Regions from separate parts of the Homo sapiens genome. Here region 1 is linked to region 2. Evidence: promoter capture Hi-C in human tissues and cell types (Jung and others, 2019). All regions are on one chromosome and are shown on one strand. Each heading gives the region's core, a stretch centred on a gene start or on the middle of the fragment in contact. The rest is flanking DNA. Distances are from core to core; before and after follow the strand shown. Region 1 overlaps LOC105371024 (a long non-coding RNA gene). Region 2 holds the start of ALDH1A3 (aldehyde dehydrogenase 1 family member A3).

Region 1 (6,723 bases), core at 1,575-4,074, 130 kb before region 2:
TAAGAGCAGTTTTAGGTTCATAGCAAAATTGAGAGGAAGGTGCAGAGATTTGCCTTATACTCTCTGCCCCTAAACATGCATAGCTTCCCTCTGTTTCTGTCTTCTGAAAGTGGCTGTAGAGAATTGGTGTAGTTTCTTCCTTAAATGTTTGGTAGAAATCACCAGTGAACCTATACGGATGGGCCTGAGGCTTTTTGTTTCGGAGGTAATTGATTCAACCTCTTCAATAGATACAGACCTATTAAGATTGTCTGTTTCTTCTTATGTGAGTTTTGGCAGCTTGTGTCTTTCAAGATATTGGTCCATTTTATCTAGGTTACCAAATCTGTGGGCATAGAGTTGTTCATAGTATTTATTTATCATCCTTTCAGTGTCTATGGGCTCTATAGTGACGTCCCTTCTCTCATGTCTGATATTAGTAATTTGGGTCCTGTCTTTTTTTCTCAGCCTGGCTAAAGGCTTATCAATTTTACTGGTCTTTCCAAAGTACCACGTTTTTATTTCATTGATTTTTTTCTGTTAATTTCCTATTTTCAATTTAATTACTTTTTGTTCTAATTCTTATTATTTCTTTTCTTCTGCATACTTGGAATTTAATTTACTCTTTATTTCTAGCTTCCTAATATAGAAATTAGTTTGTTTTTAGATCTTCTTTTCTTATATGTGTATTCAGTGCTATAAATTTCCCACTAAGTGTTGCTTTCACTGCATCCCACAAATTTTTATTAGTTATGTTTTAATTTTCATTTAGTCCCAAATATTTTAAAGTTTCCCTTTAGTTTTCTTCTTTGACCGTATATTATTTAGAAAGGTGTTGTTTAATCTCTATGTAGTTGGGGATTATCCCATTATCTTCCTGTCATTAATTTCTAGTTTAATTACTTTGGGGTCTGAAAGTAGATATTCAATGATTTCTGTTTTTTGTTTTTTTAATTACGTGTATTTTATAGCCCAGAATATGGTCCATTTTGGTGAATGTCCCATGTGAGCTTGAGAAGAATATGTATTCTGCTGTTGTTGGATGAAATAGTCTAGAGGTATCAATTATATCCAGTTGATTTATGGTGTTGTTGAGTTCAATTATGTCCTTACTGATTTACTGCTTGCTGGATCTGCCCATTTATGATCAAGAGTTTTTAAATCTTCAACTATGACAGTGTATTCATCTATTTTTCCTTGCAATTCTATCAGTTTTTGTGTCTCATAGTTTGACACTGATGTTAAGTGCATACATGTTAAGGATTGTTATGTCTTCTTGGAGAATTGACCCATTTATCACTATGTAATGCCCTTCTTTATCCATGATCACTTTCCCTGCTTTTAGGTCTGCTTTTTCTAAAATTAATATGGCTACTTCTGCTTTCTTTTGATTAACCTTACTTTGTAATATTTTGTCCATTTTCTTTTAACCTATTTTTATCTTCATATTTAAAGTGGGTTTGCTTTTTGTTTTTTTGGTAGAGAACATATAGTTGGGTCTTGTTTATTGATCCACTCTGACAATGACTGTCTTTTAGTTGGTGCATTTATATCATTGACATTCAAAATTATTATTGGTATAATTGGATTCATATTATATCATTGACATTCAACATTATTATTGATATCATTGGATTCGTATCTACCATATTTGTTACACTTTTCTATTTGTTGCCTTTCATCTTTCTTTCTTCTTTTGTCTTCTACTCTTTTCCTATCTTTTGTGGTCTTAATTAGCATTTTACATTCCATTTTCTCTCCTTTCTTGGCATATCAGTTGTACTTCTTTTTTTATTTTTTAGTGGTTTCCCTAGAGTTGTAACATACATTGACAACTAATTTGAGTGTACTTTTAAATAACAATATCCCACTTCACAAGTTGTGTGAATACCTTATAATAACAAATAATCCAAATTCCTCTTCTCCATTTCTTGTATCACTGCTGTCACTAATTTTATTTATATATAAGTGCATATATATATCTAATACAATGTTGCTATTATTATTTTAAACAAATTTATCTGTTAAATCAACTGAGAATAAGAAAAATAAACATTTTTATTTTACCTTCACGTATTTTTTCTTCAACCTTTATACTTTCTTTACGTAGGTCCAAGTTTCTGAACTACATTATTTTCCTTCTCCCTAAAGAACTTCTTTTAAAATTTCTTGCAAGGCAGGTTCACGGGCAACGAATTCCCTCAATATTTGTTTGTCTGAGAAAGTATTTTTCCTTCACTTTTGAAGGATAATTTTACAGGGTACAGAATTGTAGGTTGCTGGGTTGTGGGTTTTATTTCCCCACACTTTATTTCACTCTACTCTCTTCTTGCTCGCATGGTTTCTGAAGAGAAGTTGGATATAATTTCTTATCTTTGTTTCTTTGTAGTAACATGTTTTTCCTCTCTTTGATTTTCTGTAGTTTGAAGATGATAGGCCTAGGTGCAGTGTTATTGGCATTTATCCTGCATGGTGTTCTCTGAACTTCCTGGGTCTATGGTTTGGTGTGTGACATTTATTTGGTGGAAATATTGTTCCAGTATTTTTTTTCTGTTTTTTTCTCTCTTTCTTATCTTTCTTTTGATGGGTTACTAATAAGCCCATCAAATGCATCCTTCGTTTCTGTTACAGTGTTTTTGTCTTTCAGCATTTCTTTTTGGTTCTTTCTTAGGATTTCTACCTCCCTGCTTATATTGCCCATCTGTTCTCGCATGTTGTCTACTTTGTCCATTTAAAACAGACTCTTCCAATCTCTGTCTTATAAATGGTGCACTTAGATCATTTACATTTAATAGAATTATAAATATGTTAAAACTTAAGTCTGCCATTTTAAAATTTTGTTTATTCCTTTTTTTCATTGTTTCTTTGTTTTCTTTTCCTGCTTCCTATGGGTTACTTGAACATTTTTTAGAATTCCAATTGATTTATCTGTAGTGCTTTTGAGTGTATTTCTTAGAATTTTTTTTAGTGATTGCTCTAAATATTAAATTACATAAAATAATTTATCACTGTCTGCTAGTATTGTCATTTTACCAGTTAATTCAGTATAGATATCTTCCCTCTCTTTATATCCCTTTACCTTCCTCCAGTTATAACTGTACTGAATTTTCCTCTGCATATCTTTAGAACCATATCACACAGTGTTATAATTTTTGCTTTTCCCATCAAACTTAATTTAGAAAATTCAAGAGAAGAAGGAAAATCTTTTAGTTAGTAATTTTGTTCTTTCCATGTTCTTTCTTCCTTTTAGATATCTTTTTTTTTTTTTTTTTTTTGAGACAGAGTCTCGCTGTGTCACCAGCCTGGAGTGAAATGGCATGATCTCGGTTCACTGCAACCTCCGCCTCCCAGGTTCAAGCAATCCTTGTGCCTCAGCCTCCTGAGTAGCTGGGATTACAGGGCCGCACCACCACGTCTGGCTAATTTTTGTATTTTTAGTAGAGATGGGGTTTCGCCATGTTGGTCAGGCTGGTCTCCAACTCTTGGCCTCACATGATCTGCCTGCCTTGGCATCCTGAAGTGCTGGGATTACCGGTGCGAGCCATTGGCCCCAGCCCCTTTTAGATATTCTAAGATTCTTTCTTTTATTGTTTTGTCTCTATTTTGAGAAATTCCTTTATTATTTTAGGGTAGATTTGCTGGTGACAATTTTCTTAGTTTTCCTTCATTCAAAACTGTCTTGATTTTTCACTTCAATCATAAGGCTATTTTACTAGGTATTGATTCTAGGTTGACAATTCCTTTCTTTCAGCACTTGAAAAATATTACACCCCTTTCTTCTGGCCTCTTTGCTTTCTGAAGAGAAATCTGCTGTCATTCAAATTGTTTTTCCTCAATAGGTAAGATGTTATGGTTTTCTCTGGCCACTTTCAGAATTTTTTTTTTGTCTTTAGTTTTCAAAAGTATTACTTTGATGTGTCTTGGCATGTTTTTCTTGGGGTTTATTCCATTTGGCATTTGTTCTACTTCTTGAATCTGTAAATTTATGTCTCTTGCTAAATTTGGTAAGTTTTTCAGCCATTATTTCTTCAAGTGCTTTTTCAGCCTGGACCTTTTTCTTCCAGGACTCTTATGACCCAAACATTAGATCGTTTGTCATAGTCCCCTCAGTCCCCAACCCTCTGTTCTTTTTTTTTTTTTCCAGAATATTTTCTCTCTGTTGTTCAGATTGGCTTATTTCTATTTTTCTATCTTCAAGTTTACTGATTCTTTCCTCTGTCCCCTCATTCTGCTGTTGAACCCATCTACTAAGCTGTTTATTTCAGCTATTGTATTTTTCAGTTCTAAAATTTTCATTTGGTTCTTCTTTACATCTTCTTTGTGGAAAATTTCTGTTTCTTAAGTTTTTTTTTTAGATGTATTTCGTGATCATAATTGCTTGTTAGAGCATTTTTATCCTGTCTTCTTTAAAATATCTTTAAGATAATTTTAACGTCTTTGTCATCCTGATGTTGGCATCTGTTCACTGTCTTTTTCATTACATTTGAGATCTTTCTAGTTCTTGACATGATGAGTGATTTTCAACTCTAATCTGGACATTTTTGTATTATGTTAGCAAAATTTGGACCATATTTAAATCTTCTGTTTTAGCTAGCTTTCTCTGACATTGTTTTTGCAGAGGTGGAAAAGGAGTGCTGCCTTGTTACTGCCAGGTAGGGGTAGAAGTGCAGGTTCCTCACTCAGCCTCTGTGGACACCCAAGCTGTGGGGTTCTGTGTTGTTGCTGGATGTGGGTGGGAGGTCTAGCTCGCTAACTTGTCTCCACTGACCCTGGGGGTTCATATCTCATTACTTACCAGAGGGGATGAAAATCTTAGGTGTCTACTGGGTCTTCTCTGACGTCACCCTTTGGTGTGTGTTAAGAGTCTCACAAAGGAAGAAGTCTAGGCTCTCTCCTTGGTCTTTGCTGATGTAGGTAATGTTTTCTGTGGTTTTCACTGGAATAGAGCAGTTAGTCTGTACAAGTTTTCTGTCTTGCTAGGCTGCCCCTTTCTTGGCCCTTTTGTTAGAGAGAGCAAGCTTTCGTTATTGTGGTGGTGGTTTGTGTTCATCGGGATCTCCAGCTTGCCAGCTTTTTCAGTTCCAAGTTTAGGATATATGAGGCAAAAAGAAACCCTACAGAACTCACTACCACATCATTCCTTGAGTCTTAAGGCACTTAGCCAGCCTACCTTCTCCTCATCACCTTTCAGAGACTTATCGTGTTTGTTTTATATATAATGTCCAGAGTTTTAGTTGTGCTTAGTGGGAAATTAGGGAAAGATATGTCTACTCCATCTTCCCAGAAGCAGAATTTTTCCTAATTTATTTATTTTAATTAAAAAAATCATTTTAGGAGACGTATTTGCCAAAGTTAAGGACATGCACCGGGGAGATAGGTCTATGCCTTTCTTTAAATATGATTTTGAGGGCTTCAACATTCAAAAGGGAAAGGGTAGGATACTGAGAAATACACAATTTTCATGTGAATGGGGTAGGGGGAAATAGTCATTCATGCCTTTGTCTGGCTCAGTGAATCTGCATTTTTACACAAGATAACATAGACAACAGGGCAGAGGAAACAATTACGTATGCATTTGTCTCAGATGAACAAAGGGACGACTTTGAGTTCTGTCCTTTGTCTCTGTACCTGTGAAGATAAGCTATCAATTTACATGGCTGTGGTGAACTTTAACAGAACCGCTTCAGGGTAAAGATCTTGGGTCCCACAAGGAATTTTCATGTGGGCACAATGTGAGGGAAGTATGTAGCTTTTCATCTTTGTAACCATCTTATTTAGGAATCAAAATGGGAGGCAGGTTTGCATGACCTGGTTCCCAGCTTGGCTTTTCCCTCTGGCTTAGTGAGTTTGGGGTCCCAAGATTCATTTTCCTTTCACAATTGTAATGTTAACTCCTAGTAACGTTTTTTTGACAATGGTTTTGGCAATGATTTTTTTTTCTTTTTTTTCTTTTAACTTTTGTTTTAAGTTCTGGGGTACATGTGAAGGTTTGTTATGTAGGTAAACTCATGTCATGGGGGTTTGTTGTACAGATTATTTTATCACCCAGGTATTAAACCCAGTACCCAATAGTTGTCTTTTCTGCTCCTCTCCCTCCTCCCACCCTCAACATTCAAGTAGACCCAATGTCTATTGTTTCCTTCTTTGTGTTCACAAGTTCTCACAATTTAGCTCCCACTTACAAGTGAGAATGCAGTACTTGGTTTTCTGTTTCTGTGTTAGTTTGCTAAGGATAACAGCCTCCAGCTCCATCCACATTTCTGCAAAAGACATGATCTTGTTTTTTTATCACTGCACAGTATTCCATGGTGTTTATGTACCACATTTTCTTTATTCAGTCTGTCATTGATGGGCATTTAGGTTGATTCCATGTCTTTGCTATTGTGAATAGTGCTGCAGTGAACATTTGTCTTTATGCTAGAATGATTTATATTCCTCTGGGTATATACCCAGTAATGGGACGACAGGGTTGAATGGTAGTTCTGCCTTTAGCTCTTTGAGGAATCACCATACTGCTTTTCACAATGGTTGAACCAGTTTACATTTCCACCAACAGTGTGTAAGTGTTCCATTTTCCCCACAACCTTGCCAGCATCTGTTATTTTTTGACTTTTTAGTGATAGACATTCTGACTGCTGTGAGATGGTATCTCATTGTGGTTTTGATTTGCATTTCTCTAATGATCAGTGATATTGAGCTTATTTTCATATAATTGTTAACCACATATTTGTCTTCTTTTGAAAA
Region 2 (6,282 bases), core at 1,400-3,899:
CCTCTGCCATCTCCGATGCTCAGGCACCTCATCACTGAACCAAACACCCAGCAACCCACTGTGAGCAAAAATAAATCTTCCTCCTTCCCGGCCCCTGTGGTCCCTGCCTCTGAGGCCACAGCTAGGAGATATGGTTCCTAGGAAAGGCACAACGAAAAGGGATACTCCCGCCATTTTTGACCTTCAAAGCCCTTCGTGTCTTCACTATGCCCTATGCAGCCCCAGTGACATGGGACCACCCTGGGTCATAGGTGCTCACCTGCTTGAAAGAATAGGTCAGAGGAATGTCAGAGAAGCCCCTCCTCCCTGCACTGCACCACCCACTCTCACACAGTCTGGCCTTAGTTTCTCGACCGATGGTGATGTCTGGGGCAAGTGTCTGCACGCCTCTGTTTACTCACCCGTAAAATGGGGAGAAGCGCATTTGCCTCCACCCCTCCTGCCGATGGGAGCAGAGGTAGAGCCTGCTTGTCTGGACAAGCCCAGAGCTAGGCCCATCCTCCTGACCTGCTCTCTGGGAGCCACCTACTGTGACAAAGTCTATGGCTGAGTGCTCCAGTCTGATCTCAGGCTCCCAGGATCACGTGGGTATCAAACGGAGGAGCTGCAGGTGAGCCAGTCGGCATCTTTGCAACTGGCTCCTGAGACCAGACGCCTCGGGTCACAAGGATGTCTGAGTGTGAGGTGAGGTGGCTTTCATTCCTGACTTCATAGCCAACAAAGTGGTGACTGTCTATCTTTGACCAAACAGGCTCGACTATCTTCCCTAAAGGAGCAGAGTTCTAAGCTCAACCCCATTTGCCTCCCCCATCAATCCAGCAATTATTTAATTAACACAGTTTCCTCTATAAATTTTATTTCAGATTTTTTTTTAAAATCCTGGCAGTGACATAATTTCAACCATCAAGGACCCCCGATAAAGTCTCAGGATGGGAGTTCAGTTTGTAAAGCATCTCTAGTTGCAGCTTCCTGGGGCCTGCTGCACACACTGGCCTTGGGCCCCTGGCCTCCATCCATGCAGGAGGGGTTTGTCACTACTCCCTGACGGTCCTCTTGGGCTCAGGCACCCAAACGCTAGGGCTCAGCACCCAGCCGGGGGCCGTGGCATAGCACATCTGCCCAGATGTTTTCAGGAGATCTGAGTGGGAGCCATGGGGCCAGCCAAGAGGGCAGGGAGCCCCGGATTTGCAGAAGCAGCTGAGGAAAGAGCTGGCATTGCTCAGACTCGCCAGTGTTAGCCAGCCGATATCGGTCAAGGCTGCCCCGCTCGAGGGTCCATTATCCCCTTTCCCCGGCCTCAGCTGTGCACTCCAGGCCATAACAGCACAAGACCTTTCCACAACCCCAGGGTAAGGGTCAGATGTGGGGTTTCCAAAAGCTTCAAAACTTACCCCTCTATCCAGCTCTATCCAGAAGGACACCAGGGGACAGAGAGATGGACACGGAGGCCTCAAAACAGGAAAATAAGGAGACCCCTCCCCATTGTTGATTACTTGGGGTTACCTACAGAAAGAGATGAACTGAAGGGGCTGAGCCTATCTGAGGATTAAAGCACAGCTTTTGTCAGGAGTCCGTGCCTCCGGTCTTTGTTCCAGCGACCTGAGGAATGGCATGCATCAGAAGCCGCTTCCGTGTCTCAGATGGGGCCTGGGTCAAGTCCTGGGAGTTGATGGAGCGTTTCCCAAATCGCAAAAGGAGAGGAGCTAGACTTACCTCCCCCTCCTGGGAAGTAATGCGCGACAAGAATTTAAACTCTTAAAACGATTAGCAGCAAAGGTCTCATGTGCTTTTTTTTAATTATCATTTTTTAATCGAGGTATAATTTATGCATTTAAAAAATCAGATCAATTGCCCCCCGGGCTCTGGGATGGAAGGCGGTGTGCGCCTGCGAAGGTCAGAGGCCCAGCGGCGCCAGGGCTCCTCGGCGGAGAGCCGCCCGGGTCCGGCGCTTTGCTTTCGCCTTCTGCCCCACCGCGGGCGAAGCCCCAGGGCCCCGGGGAGACTCCAGGCCGGCTGGGCCGGGGTGCGCCCGCCGGCTGTCCGCGCTCGGGCAGGGTGGGGCGCAGCGGGCGTCTGTCCTGCTAGCGGGGATCGGGCGGCTGGACCCAAGAGCAGGGCACGTGCGCAGCGACGCGGGGCGGCCCCGCCAGGAGCCCCGACCCGGGCGCGGCGCAGGGCCCGGCGGAGAGCGCGCATTCCCGAGCGCCGCGAGCCGGCCGAAGTCGGGCGAGCGCGCCGTGCGGCGGCTGGGAGTGGGCTGCATGTGCCGCGCGGGGAGCCCGCCCGACTTCGGGGAGGCAGCGGGGCGCCGTGGCCCCGCGGCTCAGCTCCCTGCCGGGTCGGGTGTCCCAGCCCTGCGACTTCCGGGGCCCGGCGGCTCCTCGGGGAGCTCGTCCACAGGCAGCCTCCGGGGCGAGAGAGCGCGCGGCGCGGGCGCCGGGACGGTCCGCGGCACGCGGGTGGAGCCGCCGGCGCTCGGGCTCCCGCAGGGGCGGCGGGCGGGGCGGGGTGAGGCGGGCCGGCCGCCCTCCCCTCTCCTCCCTCCCGCAGCCCGCCCTCCCTTCCTCCGGTCCCGCAGCCAATTAGGCGGCCCCCTCGGGCGGGAGGCGTGGGGCGCTGCATAAAGCGGCGGGGAGCTGCCACCCCGGGAGCGGGCTGCGCAGTGTCCGGGCCGAGCCGGTGCGCCGCAGACTAGGGCGCCTCGGGCCAGGGAGCGCGGAGGAGCCATGGCCACCGCTAACGGGGCCGTGGAAAACGGGCAGCCGGACAGGAAGCCGCCGGCCCTGCCGCGCCCCATCCGCAACCTGGAGGTCAAGTTCACCAAGGTGAGGCGGGCGCCCCTCCCACCCGACGGCCGCGGGCCCCTGCGCTGGGCAGCCAGACTCGGGGCGGCGGGGGCGAGGGAGCAGCGGGCCGGGGGTCCGCCGGGCGCCGCCGAGACCCGAGCCTCCCTGCCCGGGCGCGGCTCTCCAGAAACCGCACCTTTCGCGGGACGTCTCGGGCGGGATCGCAGGCGGCGGGGCTCGGCGCTGTGAGCCTCGAAGCCGGGAAACCGAGGCCGTCCAGCGCCCGCGCGGGGCCGGGCCGCCCGCATCCCTGCGAGGCCCCGACGTGTCCCTGCGCTGCCCGCTTTGATCGCGAGTGGAGGTGCGCGCCGCGTTGACTCGGAGCGCGCTGGTTTTGGGGAGCTCCCTCCCCAAAAACCCCTGCGATGATTTCCAGGGTGGACGAGTCTGGCTTTGAGAGGGTCGGAGGGTCCGAGAGCGCCAAGAGAGAGTCCGGGAGGCAGATGGCGGAGCTGCAGTTGGAAGACTGGGGAAGCGGGTCCTCCGAGCAAAGCGCAGCGGGCGCCTTCCGTGCTTAGTTTATACCCGGCTCAGCAGCAGAACGAGGAGGAGTAGGAAGGTGCTCGCTTACTGACGAAACCTCCCCGGAGCCCAGAGGTCCCGGTGTTTACACACAAGGCGCGCGCTCCGGAAGGTCGCAGACCTGGGCCTTTGGGAAGCGGTGGGTCGCGAGGCCGCAGAAGCGCACGGTTCTCTGCCTCCTCGCTCTGTGGGCTGGGAGGCTACAGCGTTGGCAGAACGGCGAGATTACCTGCCCGGGGCAGAAAGGAATAAAAGAAGATGGTGAGGCCTCCGAGGCCTCTGAGCTGGGGCTGAGGAGGGCCGAGAGACCCGGGTCCGGGAGCGCGACCCGATGGAGGACACCCCCAGGCTGTCTGGCGTGCGCGTCTGTCGTGGGCCGGTGCTGGGGCACTTTAGAGGCACAGGCCAGGCCGAGAGCCATTGCCTTAACTTTCCCCACCTTTGGCTTCTCTTGATTTTTGCTTTTACCCATAGCCCCCAACTCCAGCTGACACCGCACTTAGAGAATTTCCTCATCCGTTTTACTTTAAGAAGTAGCAATTATCTTTCTCAAAGAATTTTAATCAAGCGGAGAAAGTTGCAGGGCACTATGTGTGGCCTTCAGATTTGGGTCTCTTGGCACTTAATTCCCAATGTCGGCTGAGCCTCTGATCACAAGACATTTAAATTAACTGTTTTCAGAAGGCTCTGTAATCAACAAAGACACGTCGCTGTAAACTAAACGCTGGAAATTATTCTTAATGTAGTTTTATTTGTAATATCAGCTTCAGAGTGAAAATTCCAACACGAATTCTGGGAAGAGTGAAAATGGTACCCGAATTTTGTAAGACCCTAACCCCAGGTGCTTGGCTGCTGCTACTGATGGTTAAGTGGGGAGGTTGTTTGTTTTCTTTTGGTTGTACAGGATTTCAAAATACTGTATATAGAAACCAGACAGTAAATGTATTATGGTCCTTTTACTTTTTATGTTTTTGAGTCCTATCAGCAATCTGACCACATACAAAAAGTTTACCTCTTTCTCTATGATTTTTAGGACACTTTTAAAGTGTAGATGTAGCCCTTATGGAGACCTTAGACAATTCACAGAGCAATGGTTGCCTGTTGTCTTGGTGGGTGCGCAACCTTTGCCAGTTAAAGGGAACCAGTGCAGGAATGAGGCTGAGGGAAGCTGGTGGATCGGCCTGGAGTGCTGGGATCTTGAGTGGTCTCCCAGGCGATAAAGGCCCCAACTGCCTGACACCGGCTGCTGGCTCCTCACCCGTTGGGGGACTGTGCTGCTGCCTGCTCTGTCCTGGCTCCTGGCCCATCTCTGCAGAGACCTCCCCATAGCAGTTGTGGACCCAGGCAGCTTGTGTGGCTGAGGGTGGCCAACCAGTGCCCTGGCACAGTCCTCAGGGAGACTGGACTGGAGAGGCGGCCGAGAGTGAGGCCACCAAGAGTGCCTGCCGAGGGAAGGAGCGGGATAAACTGAAGTGCAGGACTGAGGCCCAGAGTGGGCGAGTGGCCCGGCAGGTGGGTGGCCTGGCAGGAGAGCAGACGGTGGAGCATGGGAGCCAGCAGTGGTCTGCTATTTTCCAAAATTGACTCATGGTGCTTCTCGATAATGGGGCACACACCAGAGTTGGTCCATCTGAGCCCTAGCCCCGGCAGTGCCATTTCCCAGGGTGGTCCAACTTTCAGGATGACTTTGTCAAAGCCCCTTCATTTGTCCTCACATGTTAACATTTCATTCTCTAGGGTCATGCTGTGTGATTCTGGAGAGCTGAGAGCCCCTCCAGGGTCCCCACACAGATCTCAGAGGATAGAAGTCCCTTCTAATTTAGAGGGCCTCTTTCTTTCCTTATAAAATTTCTTCCAGTAGCAGGGATTCTCTTCAAAGTTTTCTGATTTTTAAAACACCGGTTTTTATTATCTCTCTTATGAAAAATAAAATTCCCCCAAATCTCCTTTTCTGAAAACATATTCTTTTTGAGTTTAGCTGAGTGGCCTGTTGTCAGATGGAAGTTACGGGAAATCGGCATCAATAGGATTCACTTGTATGACTGTCATCTTCACCTCTGCCTGAGACACCTTACAGCTCCGTCCTGCTTCCATGTCATTCTGTTCCTTTTGTAAAATGTGAACCAGGTCTACAGCTCAATGTAGCTTAATGCTATACCTCTATAAGGTTTGTTGTATGCTAATCCACAAATCAAAGACAACAATTCCTTCTAGACCCTTTACCCTGATTTGGAGTTCAAAACAATACAGCCAGCATAATCAGTAGACCATATTTATATACCCTTTCCTTATATTTGTGCTTTTGTTTTGTTTTAATGGAGAGAAAAATCAACAGTAGAAACCACTTACAAGATTACTTACTACTGTAGTGTGGTATAAAGTAAAAGATTTTACAAAATTAAAAACATAGTGATGGGAAAATATGGTTAGAGTCAAACAGTCTGATTTTTTTTTAAGGTTGCTGGTTACAGATCAATGTCATGAACAAACAGTAATTTTTTTTGGAGGAGCATGCTTGGAGATGAAGTATAGCAGTATAGCAGACATCCGATCATTGTAATCTGTTTTCAGCCCCCTTATTTATATTCTCTTCTGCCACCTTCTCATTTTCCCTCCCCCTTGGAGTTGATACCAGGAAGGACCTAGAATCAGCAATTTTCACTGACAGTCTCTATTATCTAACCCACGAAATTTCATCTTTCTACAAATGGGCCCCTCTTCCTGGCTGCACTTTCCTCCCCGCACTAACTTAACTCTTCTTCCTCAGTTATTAATTTCTCGCTGTTACCAAGTGATGACTTGCTGGATGGCAAAAGTGAACTCTTGGATTTAGTTTCAGCTGGAAGAATAAACCTGTAATTGTAGCCTGGCCTTTTCCTGGTGCGCTTCCCTGGGGGCCTGGCCTCACATTGGA

What was found. Contacts are between HindIII fragments. The study calls those that stand out against the background at their distance.
Region 1: a fragment that was not itself captured here is called in contact with the fragment with the promoter of ALDH1A3 in region 2 in 2 of the 25 tissues and cell types used here (IMR-90 fibroblasts and lymphoblastoid cells).

Annotation. Positions count from the first base shown.
Region 1 is chr15:100,743,652-100,750,374 of GRCh38, forward strand. All of the region lies in intron 2 of LOC105371024 (a long non-coding RNA gene), which reads left to right. Among named protein-coding and RNA genes, the nearest start is that of GCAWKR, 100 kb to the right of the region's middle. The HindIII fragment of the contact is 6,250 bases long and covers 1-5,949 here.
Region 2 is chr15:100,877,182-100,883,463 of GRCh38, forward strand. It overlaps ALDH1A3 (aldehyde dehydrogenase 1 family member A3), which reads left to right and starts at 2,650. Exons shown (of 13, transcript NM_000693.4): 1 at 2,650-2,825. The coding sequence starts at 2,727. It overlaps LOC124903575 (collagen alpha-1(I) chain-like), which reads right to left and starts at 2,622. Exons shown (of 1, transcript XM_047433433.1): 1 at 1,765-2,622. The coding sequence starts at 2,622. The coding sequence ends at 1,840. RefSeq lists a silencer at 2,571-2,690 and an enhancer at 3,182-3,696. The HindIII fragment of the contact is 10,500 bases long and covers 1-3,834 here.